Linked DNA regions of Homo sapiens: region 1 is linked to region 2. The links are contacts of gene promoters, found by promoter capture Hi-C in blood cells and fetal thymus (Javierre and others, 2016). All regions are on one chromosome and are shown on one strand. The core of a region is centred on a gene start or on the middle of the fragment in contact, and the rest is flanking DNA. Distances in the headings are between cores, read along the strand shown. Region 1 overlaps BAZ2A (bromodomain adjacent to zinc finger domain 2A). Region 2 holds the start of LRP1-AS (LRP1 antisense RNA).

What was found. The method cuts DNA at HindIII sites, captures the fragments that hold promoters and counts their contacts. A CHiCAGO score of 5 or more calls a contact.
Region 1: a fragment that was not itself captured here is called in contact with the fragment with the promoter of LRP1-AS in region 2 in 1 of 17 cell types (monocytes); the score reaches 5.0 in monocytes.

What each region holds. Positions count from the first base shown.
Region 1 is chr12:56,611,083-56,616,942 of GRCh38, forward strand. BAZ2A (bromodomain adjacent to zinc finger domain 2A) reads right to left here. Exons shown (of 29, transcript NM_001300905.2): 3 at 3,932-4,525; 4 at 2,871-3,056; 5 at 1,933-2,151; 6 at 691-1,164; 7 at 491-551. Among named protein-coding and RNA genes, the nearest start is that of BAZ2A, 16 kb to the right of the region's middle. The HindIII fragment of the contact is 2,147 bases long and covers 3,396-5,542 here.
Region 2 is chr12:57,142,793-57,148,936 of GRCh38, forward strand. LRP1-AS (LRP1 antisense RNA) reads right to left here and starts at 4,827. Exons shown (of 2, transcript NR_131938.2): 1 at 4,647-4,827; 2 at 1,828-2,291. It overlaps LRP1 (LDL receptor related protein 1), which reads left to right. Exons shown (of 89, transcript NM_002332.3): 4 at 887-1,006; 5 at 2,180-2,308; 6 at 2,435-2,698. RefSeq lists an enhancer at 3,441-4,369. The HindIII fragment of the contact is 5,560 bases long and covers 1-5,361 here.

The sequences.
Region 1 (5,860 bases), core at 3,219-5,718, 530 kb before region 2:
GGGTGGGGAAGATCCAGGAAGGCAGTTATTTCCACAAGGCCCTGGTGTCAGCTAGTTTGTTCATTTTGGTCATGTACTGTTCCTGCCCTTACCTCTCCTAAGAGCATTAAAACAACAAAACCACCTCAATTCATTAGTACTAAGTCACTCCTCATTCATTACTATCCCTTGTCCACAGAAATAGGACAAGCCAGCTGGTTTGGATGTGAGCCCTAGGGTTTGGAAAAGATAATAGCTGGAGCTCCTTGGGCAAAATTGAGTCACTACAAGATGAAAAAAGAATAGGTGATGGAAGACAGACCTTGAGAGAAGAAGGAAAACCTAGGAATCTCATGCCAAGAAACATTATCACTGCAGATAACTGTCCTGTAATCTACTCTTGTCTGGCCCATTCCTCCCCCACCTCAGAGGAAAAGAGGCATTCCCTTCTTTCTAGAGTTGTGCATTAAACTTGTCAAGGTCAATAAATGTAGCAAACTAGAGCATTTACCCATGTTGGAGGGGAAGACGAACTTCTTCTGGGGTAGCAATACGTCTCCTCATGACATCACCTTGGGAGGAAGGGATACCCAAGTTAAGAGTTCAAGCAAAATATTTAAACAATAGGCCAATAGGGAAAGGCTAACTACAACATGGGACAGAAAAGTTTCTTGGAACCAGACAGGGATAGAATAGAATCTGGATACTCACCACTACCAGAAGCAGTGAGTCCTTCTCCAGTGATCTCTTCCACGTCAGCAGTGGTTTCTAGAAAGCTGCTGACATCCTTATTTGCTGGGGAGGCTGTTGGAAAGGCAGCTGCTGGGGAAGTTACGGGAGAGGCTTTTGGGGATGTCACTGAAGCCGTCAACGGGACTTCTAAGGAGACTGCTGGGAGGACTGCTGAGGAAGCTGGAGAGACCACTGAGAAGACTGCTGGAGAGACAACTGTAGAAGCTGCGGGACAAACTTCTGGAGAGATTTCTGGGGAGGCTGCTGGAGAAACCACTAGGGAGACTGCTGGGGAGGTTGTTGGCGAGACTGCTGGTGAGGTTGCTGGATGTAGCTGAATAGTGGATGACTGATCAGGAGCTGGCTGGGTCAGGGATGGTGGGAAGTCTGAAGATTGAGTTTCCATTTCTTCCTGTTCAGCGTCACTACCATTATTCAGGTCAAAGCTGTTATCTAGAATCCAAAGGGACAGGATAGGCTTTAAAAAAAAAAAAGGCATCACATAAAACAAGAGAATCTACTCAGTCAACCCTGGACCAAGCTAAACAGGGTTACTTCAAGGGGTCTTCCCTAGGGTTGGAAAAAGAAGTAGCTTTTTCTCCCAACCAATCATGAGGATTAAAGGGTAAAGTTGCTACAGATGTCATTGTGTGAAGAAATACCTTTTACCTGGTGCCAATAAAGCTTCTAGCCTCCTTCTCCCTACAAATTCCAAGTCTCACAAGTTCTTCAAAGCAGAGGGCACAGGTCGGAGTATAGCAGCCTATACCTCTTTTAGTTCCACCATACACTATCCCATAGCCCCTCAGCTCCCAGCAAGGTGCTCTTGCTTTCCTACTTTTTTTTTGAGATGGAGTCTTGCTCTGTTGCCCAGGTTGGAGTGCAACGACACAATCTCGGCTCACTGCAACCTCTGCCTCCTGGGGCCAAGCGATTCTCCTGCCTCAGCCTCCCAGGTAGCTGGGATTACAGGCATGTGCCAACACACCTGGCTAATTTTTGTATTTTTAGTAGAGGCGGGGTTTCACCATGTTGGCCAGGTGGTCTCAAACTCCTGATCTCAGGTGATCCACCCGCCTCGGCCTCCCGAAGTGCTGAGATTACAGGCGTGAGCCACTGCGCCCAGCCAGATTTCCCACTCTTAAGGCCCTAACTATGAAACTTATTCTCTCATCTTTTCTCAGGTAAAGGTCTTTCTTTGTCCTACCTACCGTCACTTACCTTGCAGGACAGACTCCCCTAGGACAGGTGGAGAGGTGGGACTGGCAAAGATAGAGGTTGATGTTTGACTATCATCTGCCAGGAGACTGAAGGCAGTAGCATTATTGAGGGAAGGGCAATCAAGGGCAGAAATCACAGGGCTGTCCTCAAGAGGCAGCTTGTCCTCTGCACCCATCAGCTCCGTGTCATCAATACCATATAGTCCTCCACTCACTGGCTCTGTTTACAAGGGTAGAAAAATCAGAGCAGGATAATGAGAAAAAAATCAGAAAGCAAGATTTAAGAAACACTGGTCAGAAAACATCCAATTCTAGTTCCCACAATGTGAAGATTCTTCCTAATATTAAGTTAGGTAACAAGTAAAGCCTTCTCCCTGAAAGAGTAGTCATGAGATTATAGGGATCATAAAAGTTTGAGGGGAGGCCGAGGCAGAAGAATTGCTTGAGGCCAGAGTTCAAGACCAGCCTGGACAACATAGCAAGACCTCATCTCTACAAGGTGAAAATGAAAGGAAAGGCATTGGTGGTATTATCTACCCAGAGACCTATGCAAAATTCTAGGATTTATCATAAAATATGTCTTTCTTGTACTTCAGTGGAGTAAAAGGTAACTGCTCACTGACAAATGTTTTCTTCCTAGTTTGTCAGAACCCAGAAAGATCAACTGTGTGATAATAAGTCCCTACCCAGTGAATTATTACAGCCCAGAGCTCTTGGCCAAAAGGAATACTGGGAAAGAACCTGGGACATGAACCAATTCAGCTCAGAATTCAGTTAGGGCACCAAGTCCTGTGGCATGTAACTGTGGTCTGCCTTAGGCCTACCTGGAAGCCCCAGTGCCCCTGATTGCCTAATACTTTTCCCATTTTACTGTCTCTTTCAGGTAAAGTTTGGCTACTCTGCATGGATAAGTTAAAGGGACATAGCCTCCAAACCTACCTGGTGCCAGAGAGTTGAAGGGCTCCAGAGAGTCTTCACTGAGGATTGGAGTGTCTTCCAGTTGATCAGGAAGATGTGAAGGATCATCTAAACAGCTCACTGTGGGGTCAGGGACCAGGACTGAGACCTCTTGGTGTAACGATTCCACAGAAGGGACAGAGCCATTGTAGCCACACATCTTCAGTTCTAGGAAATCACAGGAGAGACCAAAAGTCAAAATCAGTGCCTTATATTGGTTCACTTAGCTATACTAGGCAGTCAATCTTTGCTAGAAGGATGTTCATTCATTCAACATTTATTGCGGCCAGTTCATTGCTGGGAACCGATCACATCAAGATACTCTGAGCAGAGATGTGCTGGTAAAATCAATCCTACAGCAGGCAAAGAGAGGAAAAGAGAGTGGGGTCTGATACAACATCTCTATCATGTTCTCAGATATCTCCTCCATCCATTGGGAAACGAGAAAACATCCTGTAATTTTACAGAGTGGTGGTTACCCTTGTACCAGGAATCAACTGGAAGCTAAGCTTTTATCTATTTTGAGGGAAAAGATGAGAGGGGCTGTCACGTGTACTAATGCTAAACAACAAAAAAAAGGAAACTGAGTAGACAAATAATGATATGCTCTGCCTGCTTCCTTCCCTCCTTCGCATGCCAATCACTACATTGGGCTCAGACGACTTTAACAGCCAGTCTGATCCTGCCACAGTCAGTTAAAACAGCCTCAATGCCCGCTGCTAGACCCTAACCACTCCGTATATTTTGAAAGAAGCCTTTCTTGATGCAGGGTGTCTGTTGGGGCTGTTTCGGGCTCGCCCACCTGCCCTCTCCAGGCCAGAAGCTCTGCATGAGCTTGAAATAATTTGCACTCCCACTCGCGAGCTGGTGCTGCTGCCACAAAAACACCAGCCACTTGGCTCTGCTAATTGCTAATCACCAACATGCAAATCAGCCTCCACTGCAGAGAGCTGGAAAGACAAGTTTTTCTCACCTCAAAAAGCCACTATCCCCCCCGAGCTCCATTTTTCCTTTCCCCACCCAGTTCACCAACCCAGTTATACCTGGCTGCTCTTCTTCCAGCTCCAAGCTGCCTACCAAGCCAGTGCCATTCTCTGCCACAACTGAAGTCATCTCCTTTTCTGCTGCCTCATCAGGATGGATACCACTGCCTACCTCCTGGGAGGGTGCAAAGGTTTGAATGCTAGATCCCAACATAGGAGAAGTCTGTGGGGAGGTGAAAAAACTAGGGGGTCCATTGGGCATCACCTCAAAATTCTGGTCAGGAAAGGAATCATACAGTTCTTGTGAATCAAAGTTAAGCCCCATGGGACTCTGGGTACCGTTGGCCCAGAACTCTTGGCTCCCAGCCCGAAGGTTAGTGTTATGACTTGGGGATGAAGGTTGCCGGCTGCCCCCAAGGATGCCGTTGAGTGGGTATTGTCCCCCCGAGAACTGGGAGAGAAGGGGTGGGTCCTTGAGGTTGCTGCCAGGATTGGCAGATGGGTACTGTGAGTAGTTCCAGAGACAGTCGTAGGCCACGCTGGGGTGATGGAGGTGTGAGGTGCTGGAGGAGTGGGGAGCAGAGTTCAAAATCCCTGAAGTAGTAGTGTGAGATACAGTAGATAAGCCATTAACATTCACATCCCCATTCAAACCTGGCAGAGAAAGAAAGAAAAGGTCAGTTACAGATATGTAGGCAAGCAACTTTACCAAAACAAACTCAAAGTAATAGCACTGACTAGAAAAAGACATGGTAAAGGGAAGGGGGATTCCTCCCCTGCTATATTTAGTTTTTGGGTCTCTGGAGAACACCAAGCCCAGAGGCTCCTGGATGTAGGTTTAGCAACTGCTGCTGAGGCTGAGTAGGGGGCTAGAGAGCTCTCCAGGCCTACCATGAGAGCCACCAGCAGAGCTGGTTGCTGCTGCTTACTGCTGGCTTTTTTTTGGTTTATTTTTTGTTTGTTTGTTTTGAGACGGAATCTCGCTATGTCACCAGGCTGGAGTGCAGTGGTGCAATCTCGACCCACGGCAACCTCTGCCTCCCTGGTTCAAGTGATTCTCCTGCCTCAGCCTCCCGAGTAGCTGGGACCACAGGCGCCCATCACCACGCCCGGCTAATTTTTGTATTTTCAGTAGAGACGGGGTTTTACCGTGTTGGCCAGGATGGTCTCATCTCTTGACCTCGTGATCCACCTGCCTCGGCCTCCCAAAGTGCTGGGATTACAGGCGTGAGCCACCACGCCTGGCCTTTTTTTTTGTTTTTAATTAAATGAAACTGTTTGCAGACTCCCTACAGTGACTTGCATTCTGCCCTACTCTCATTCCCTAGGGGATTTCTTCCCTTGGAGGGGCATGACTGAATTCGCTAGGGGCCCCCTTTCCCCAGTGCCTATTTGGCCCCACAGTGGTACCAAAAGGAACAACCTCCACCTCACTGGCACATGCAGATCCAGCACTTTGTGCTGGGCTAAGAATAGAATTTGCAGTCACCACAGCGACAAGAACCCAGCTCAGAAGGCTGGGCTTGGCCCTTCCCTATAGGCATTGGAAGGTAATATGCCAGCTGGCGGGGTAGGGGGGGCACTTTGTGTGCTGTAGAATTCAGCTCTCATCATCAATGGCAACCTCTGGGATGGAGGACAATCAATCAAAAAGAACCAAGATATTAAGGAAGCTTGAGGGTAGGGTGGAATCCAATGAAATAAAGGAGCTTCTACCATCTGCAACCCTCTTCGAGAGGATCGGAGGGAGAAGTAGCAGGATTTTTCTGCTACAAGAAAGGAGGGAAGCATGTGGGCTTCTCTCTGCTTCCAAGTATAAAGGACTTGAAACCCAAGCAAGATTACAGAGGTACCTGGCGAGTCATGGTACAGAGCAACTGGTAAGCCAAATCCAGGAAAAGACCCAATCCTGGCAGCAACACCTCCATATGGAATTATGAACTTCTCTCTGGGGGAACTAGGTAAGCATTAAACTTTCCCTTGTCCCTA
Region 2 (6,144 bases), core at 3,577-6,076:
GCATGAATGGCTCTCGGGTGGAAGTGGGGAGGAGAAAGAATCGCTGGGGCCTGGCCCCCCATCCCAACTCTTCCTGGCAGGCTTAGTGCCTCTAAACGTCTTAGCATCTTGGGCGGCTCTCTCTCCTAGGTGGGGGTGGAGTGGGAAGCCAGGGTGTGAGGCCGCTGGACAAAGGGGTCTTTGTGGCCAGGCTGCCTGGCCCCACGCAAGGCCATTAACTGGGTCGCTGGTCTGGGGGGGCAACTGCTCTCCCACCTCTCCCCCCTCCTGTCTCATTCCCTTCTGTCTCCCCTGTGGAAGTGGGTCAGTGGCAGGAGAAAGATTAGAAAAGAATCCAGAGGGGACCAGTTTTGCTCCTCCTTCCTGTCCTCTACCTGGGCCTTAGGCCTTCTCTCTGAGGCCTCTAGGGCTCCGGGGATGGGTTAGACAGGTGCTTCCAGGCCAGAGCTGGGATCCTGTGGGGACAGACACGATTCCATGCCCACTTTTCAGCCCCAGCTGAAGCCAACATTGTAATCCCCAGGCAGTGTAGATGAGAGGCATATCAAAGGGATAAGACTCACCATCCCCTCTTCCTGTTGACCCCAACAAAGTGCCAGAACCCCTCTCCATGGGGACAGAGGTAGCCCAGAACATCCAGAACAGAGACATGTGGGTTCTAAGCCATCACTGGCTGTGTGACCTTGGGCTTGTCTTATAGCCTCTCTGGGCTTCAGTTTCTTCACTTGTGAAATATGGTAGATGCTTCCTAAGGCCCTTCTGTCTCTGACACTGCAGCCCTTAGAAGTGGTTTCTGAAGGTTGACTGGGTTTAGGGGAAGGTTGTGGCCTGCGTGGAGCTGCCAGATCTGGCGGCCTGAATATGTGTCTCTCCTGCCCCCACACAGAGCTCCAAGGCAACTGCTCTCGCCTGGGCTGCCAGCACCATTGTGTCCCCACACTCGATGGGCCCACCTGCTACTGCAACAGCAGCTTTCAGCTTCAGGCAGATGGCAAGACCTGCAAAGGTATGTGAGTGCATGTGCCTGTGTGCATGTGTGTGTGCCAGTAGCCAGTTGAGGTGGGCAGGGAGGGGCAGAGAGGGGTAGGGGGCCTGGCTGGAATAAGAAACTAGAAGGAAGGTGCAAGAGAGGGGGTGCCACCACCCCAGGGCATGACTGTGAGCCCTAACCATTTGCTTCCACTAGACTTCTAAAAATTCACCTTAAAATTATAGTTTATATGTAAATTTTTCTGTTGTAAAAAATTAGAGCATTAACAGATAAAACCAAAGTCCCCTTTGACAAATCCCCCTCAATTCCGGTCCCCTTCCCATCTCCCTGGAGTTCAACTCTATTATCAGTTTGCTCTCTCTCTTTCAGGCCCTTTTTTGTGCATTTGTCTCTGGGTATTCACAGAAAATCTAATTGGAAGTACTGCTCAAGAGTACTGCGTGCTCTTTTTTACATAAACAATAGTATACTGTGTATATTATTTTCAATGTTTTTCACTCATCAGTATGTTCCACAATTTTTTTTTCTGTGTTAATATGTAAAGATCTACATCATTCTTTTAGAAACCACTATGACGTATGACTTTTACCACAGTTTACTTGGTCACCTCCCTGTTGATGAGTGAGATGTTCCCAATTTTTCACTGCTACAAGCAATGCAAACTTTTCTGTTTTAAATTTGCCTCCCTCGGGTCTTTGTGCAAATGCCACCTTCTCAGTGAAGCCGTCCCCCGACCCCTCTAAAACTGCATCCCTGCCATCTGCATTCTCTATCCCTGTTCTCTTTTCATTGCACTAGCACCTCTAATGTATACTTTATTTACTTTGTTTCATATGTTATTATAGTAACTATATTTCATTTATTATCTGAATATAAGTTTCATGAGGACAGCAATGTGGGTCTATTTTAAAGTTCACTGATGCACCCCTGGCACCTGACCCATAGTAGGGACTCAATAAATCTTCCCTGCGTGGATGAGTGATATGTACACGAGTGTTTCTCTAGAGTGGATTCCAAGACTGGACTTGCTGGGTGTTAAGGTTTGCACATTTCATGCTGTAATAGATTCTGCCGAACTGTCCTTCAAGGTAGCTGTAAGGATGGACATGTTGATCATGTCTGATGATCACCCACTTCGTTGCCCTTGTCACACTGGAAATGACCACATTCTTGCCCTTTCCTCGGCAGATTTTGATGAGTGCTCAGTGTACGGCACCTGCAGCCAGCTATGCACCAACACAGACGGCTCCTTCATATGTGGCTGTGTTGAAGGATACCTCCTGCAGCCGGATAACCGCTCCTGCAAGGCCAAGAACGGTGGGTGGGGTTGCCTCTGGCCACAGTGCTAACTAAGCCCCCTCAATGCTGTTCCCTGGTGGGTGGTGGCCTGAGAGGTGGTCCTAGAGCCCTGGCTGCACGGACTCTTCTCTTCCCCATTCCCAGAGCCAGTAGACCGGCCCCCTGTGCTGTTGATAGCCAACTCCCAGAACATCTTGGCCACGTACCTGAGTGGGGCCCAGGTGTCTACCATCACACCTACGAGCACGCGGCAGACCACAGCCATGGACTTCAGCTATGCCAACGAGACCGTATGCTGGGTGCATGTTGGGGACAGTGCTGCTCAGACGCAGCTCAAGTGTGCCCGCATGCCTGGCCTAAAGGGCTTCGTGGATGAGCACACCATCAACATCTCCCTCAGTCTGCACCGTGAGTCACCTGCTCTCAGCTTGGAGGGCTGGGGAGGGTAGGGGAGACAGGGAAGGTGGACCCTATCTTGAACAGAGGCCGGGAGTTACACAGGATGGTCCTGTCTGGGGCAGGAGAAGCAGGAGGCTGGATACAATGGTGTGTGTTTGAGGCAGGGGCAGAGCCACCGGCACGCTCCCTCCCAGCTCTCTGAGCAAGTGTCTGGATGGCCCCTGCATTTCTGGCCAAGGGCTGAGGGGGCAGTGAATGGTCAATCTCCAGAGACCAGGGACTGTCCCTTCTCTGAGAGGGGAGTGTTGACTAGACTGCAGAGGGACTTTCCGGTGCAGTGGGAGCCAAGGCTAGGGAAAGAAGGAGCGGAAGCCTGAGGTGCCCTGTTAGGCTGCAGCTGAGGGTAAAGGAGCTGGGGCCCAGCTGCTCTGTCTCCATGGGCCATCGTTTCCCTCGGGGACCATTGCCAATGGACTCTCTGCTGCCATCGGGGGAGGGCAGTACTGAGGTTATTTCTCTGTGGCTTTGTGGCAGTGAATGAGGCTGGGAGAGGAGCGTGAGCCACATGAGATTTTAGAATATCCTGGATGCTTCCATTCAGGCTTCTCCCTAGGCTACACTTTTGCTATCCTAGTTGTGGAAGAAGGGGTGTCACAGAAAGGGGCACGAGCATAGCTGGGTGTAGACCCACTGCCGGGAACAGCCCTGCCCATCTCAGAGGCTGTTACACCAGCAACCTTAAAAGTCAACATCTGGCAGCATCACATTTCCAAAGAAATGCACCACAGGGCTGAGAGGAAGAATCTGGCCTGTGGTTGATCTGACCCCCTAAGGGAGATTAACTTGATCTGTAACTGTTTAGTAAACCAGAATTCCCATCTCTGCCTTGGTTTCCTAATCTGCATAATGGGTTTGAGCTTGTCTGTCTAGATCAGATTAACTGGAGTGAAAGCCAGTGGTAAAGGACAGCACACTTTGAAGTTGAGGATTGTGAACCTTGGGCCTCTCTAGAAGATCTTCAAGTTTCTTTATTTGGTTCTTGTGATGAAAAGAAAGATCCCAGGAGGTTACAAGGGATTCATTCTGGGAGAGAGAAAGGCCCCTCCCCGGGATGGTGGCGAGCAGGGGTTCCTCTGAGAGCCCTCACTCTCCGTGGCCTCAGCGTAAGGTTCACATTTCTGCCTTTGGCTCCTCCAGAGCATCCCTGATAGCGTCCTTGGGCTGCTGCTGTCCACAGCTCACCTGTGATCAGACATGTGTCCTCCTTGGGGTGCTGAGCTGGGGGCTGTCAAGCCTGGTTGGCTGAGCTCTTAACGAGTGGGCGACTCAGGGAACCCCATGGCTGATGGGGTGGGATTGGTGCTAGACCCTCTTGTGCAGCTGCCCTCCCCCTGTTCCTTGTCCACTGACCTACTCAACAGGCCTGTCTGGGCAGACAGCTTGTCAGTTTCCTCCCCAGCCCTGCATCTTGCCATACAGTGGGCTTCTGGGTAGGTGGCTATGGGGTGTCCTGGAGGTAACCTTCTCAACTTCTACTCTGGCCTCATCTCCTTATCTGACTTCCTCCCCAGGAGAAGCTGGTACCCCTCCCTTGGCAAACAGATTTGCCTTGCCTCCCAGTCTGCTAAACTCACTGGGCCTCTCAGGGGCAGAGTCCAGGAGGCTAGAAGAGTCCAAGGGGAAATGCTTGTGGGGTAAATGAGTGGGTTTCTCTCATCCCAGCTTCTGTCCCTTCCTCCCTGCCCTCCCCCTGCTCCACGTCCCTGCCGCCTGAATGTCTGGCTGTCACCCTGAGGATGGTTGTTTTGCTCTCTCCCACAAACTAATTATGGGTCCCAAACTGAGGACGTCAGTGTCTCTCCCCTAGCCCCTCCCCCAGTTTCTGGGTCATCCCCCTCCCCAGGAGATGCTGACTGGCCTGCCCTGGTGTGTAGGGTGGCTGGTCCCAGGCACTCACCTGCACAGTGGCTGCTGGCCTGTAATTAGCTCCCCAAGGAGGACGAAGAAGAAAGGCTGCAGCTTTCCCCTGCTTTCACTCTGCCCTCCAGGGCAGCCCTCCCTGCAAGCCTTCCATTCTGTGCTGTGACTGTGACCTCTGTTGGACCCCTGGGGCTGAGCCTCATGCAGCAGGGGTGCACACAGAGGGAGGAGTCTGACAATTGAGGGGTGTTCGAGCCAGCGAGGCCAGCCCGCTGGTGCAGGCAGAAGGGGGAGCCTGCCCCAGAGAAAACTCTGGAAGCAGAAATAGAATAGAAAGAAGGAAGGAGGCCAGGAAATGAGCCTGGTTCACATGTGTCCTGGGCCATGTGAGTCAGACCTGTTGTGGAGTCCTGAGAGCCCCCGAGGGCCCCCCTGAGGCCCTGCAGTGTGTGAACATTCCTCTTCAATGCCCCAGGGCTGCTGACCCTCCTGCCTCAGGCCCAGTGTTATCCCCCTGGATTGGGTGGGTCATCTCTTTTCCTCCCACCTGAGATTACCTCCCCCTCCCCTCTGCCGCTGGCCCAGTGGTTTGGGGAGGTCTATGAGGCTCGAATTCCAAGACCAGAGAACTCCATGGTGAGAGCCGGAAGAGAAGGCAAGACCCTTGGCCAGTACCAAGAGCAGCCCTGGCTTTCACTACTGCTTTCTCAAAGGGGCTATGCATTGATTTGATTTTAGATGGTACCTGGACAAGCTTTTTTTTTTTTTTTTTAACTGTTATAGTTACGTTTTTATTTGATATGCATTAGGAAACTCCTGTAACTAGCACATCAAATCTGTTACTTCAGCAATTGTTTAGCATGCAGCGAAATAAGAAAAGTAAGTTAATTGAAATAACTGGTAATAAACAGTAGCGCAAGCTGTACATAAGCATGGTAGACATTTTGAAAGTGATACACAAAAGACTAAAGTTCTGAAAATTGAGGCCCAGAGGGATCAACAGGCCTGATAGTCCCTTAGTCAGGAACCAGGCCTGCGCACTCTCACCCCCACCTCTGACCAGTCTCTCAGCTCCAGAGGCCTATGGAGCCTGTAACCCAGCTTTGTCCAGCCTCCTGCCAGGCTGCCCCTGGGCAGGCCTGGTGGTGCAGTCTACCGACCCCAGCCCAGCCCTGCATTTCCTAAGCTGAGCTCCTCTGATCTGTATTCCCTTCACCTTGGAGGATGCCACCACTGTAGAAAGAATGAGGCAGACTGCAAGATTGGGGTCCTGGGAACATGGGTGTGTATGGTGAGGGGAGGTTCTGAGGTTGTAAATAGAGGCCTTGAAGGAAATCGGGTTTGCTGAAGTCACTCAGGAGTTTGGACTGTGTGTGAAAGGATGGTCTGAAGGGGCTCTCAGAGGTCTCAGGGTTCCCCTCCCTGCACCATGCTGCATGGGGAAGAAGGAGGTGGCTGGGGAGCTCAGCAAAGGGCCCCTAGGCTGCAGGCAGCAAGGTTGCGAAATGGGTCCCAGGTCCAGCTGGCCAACTTCA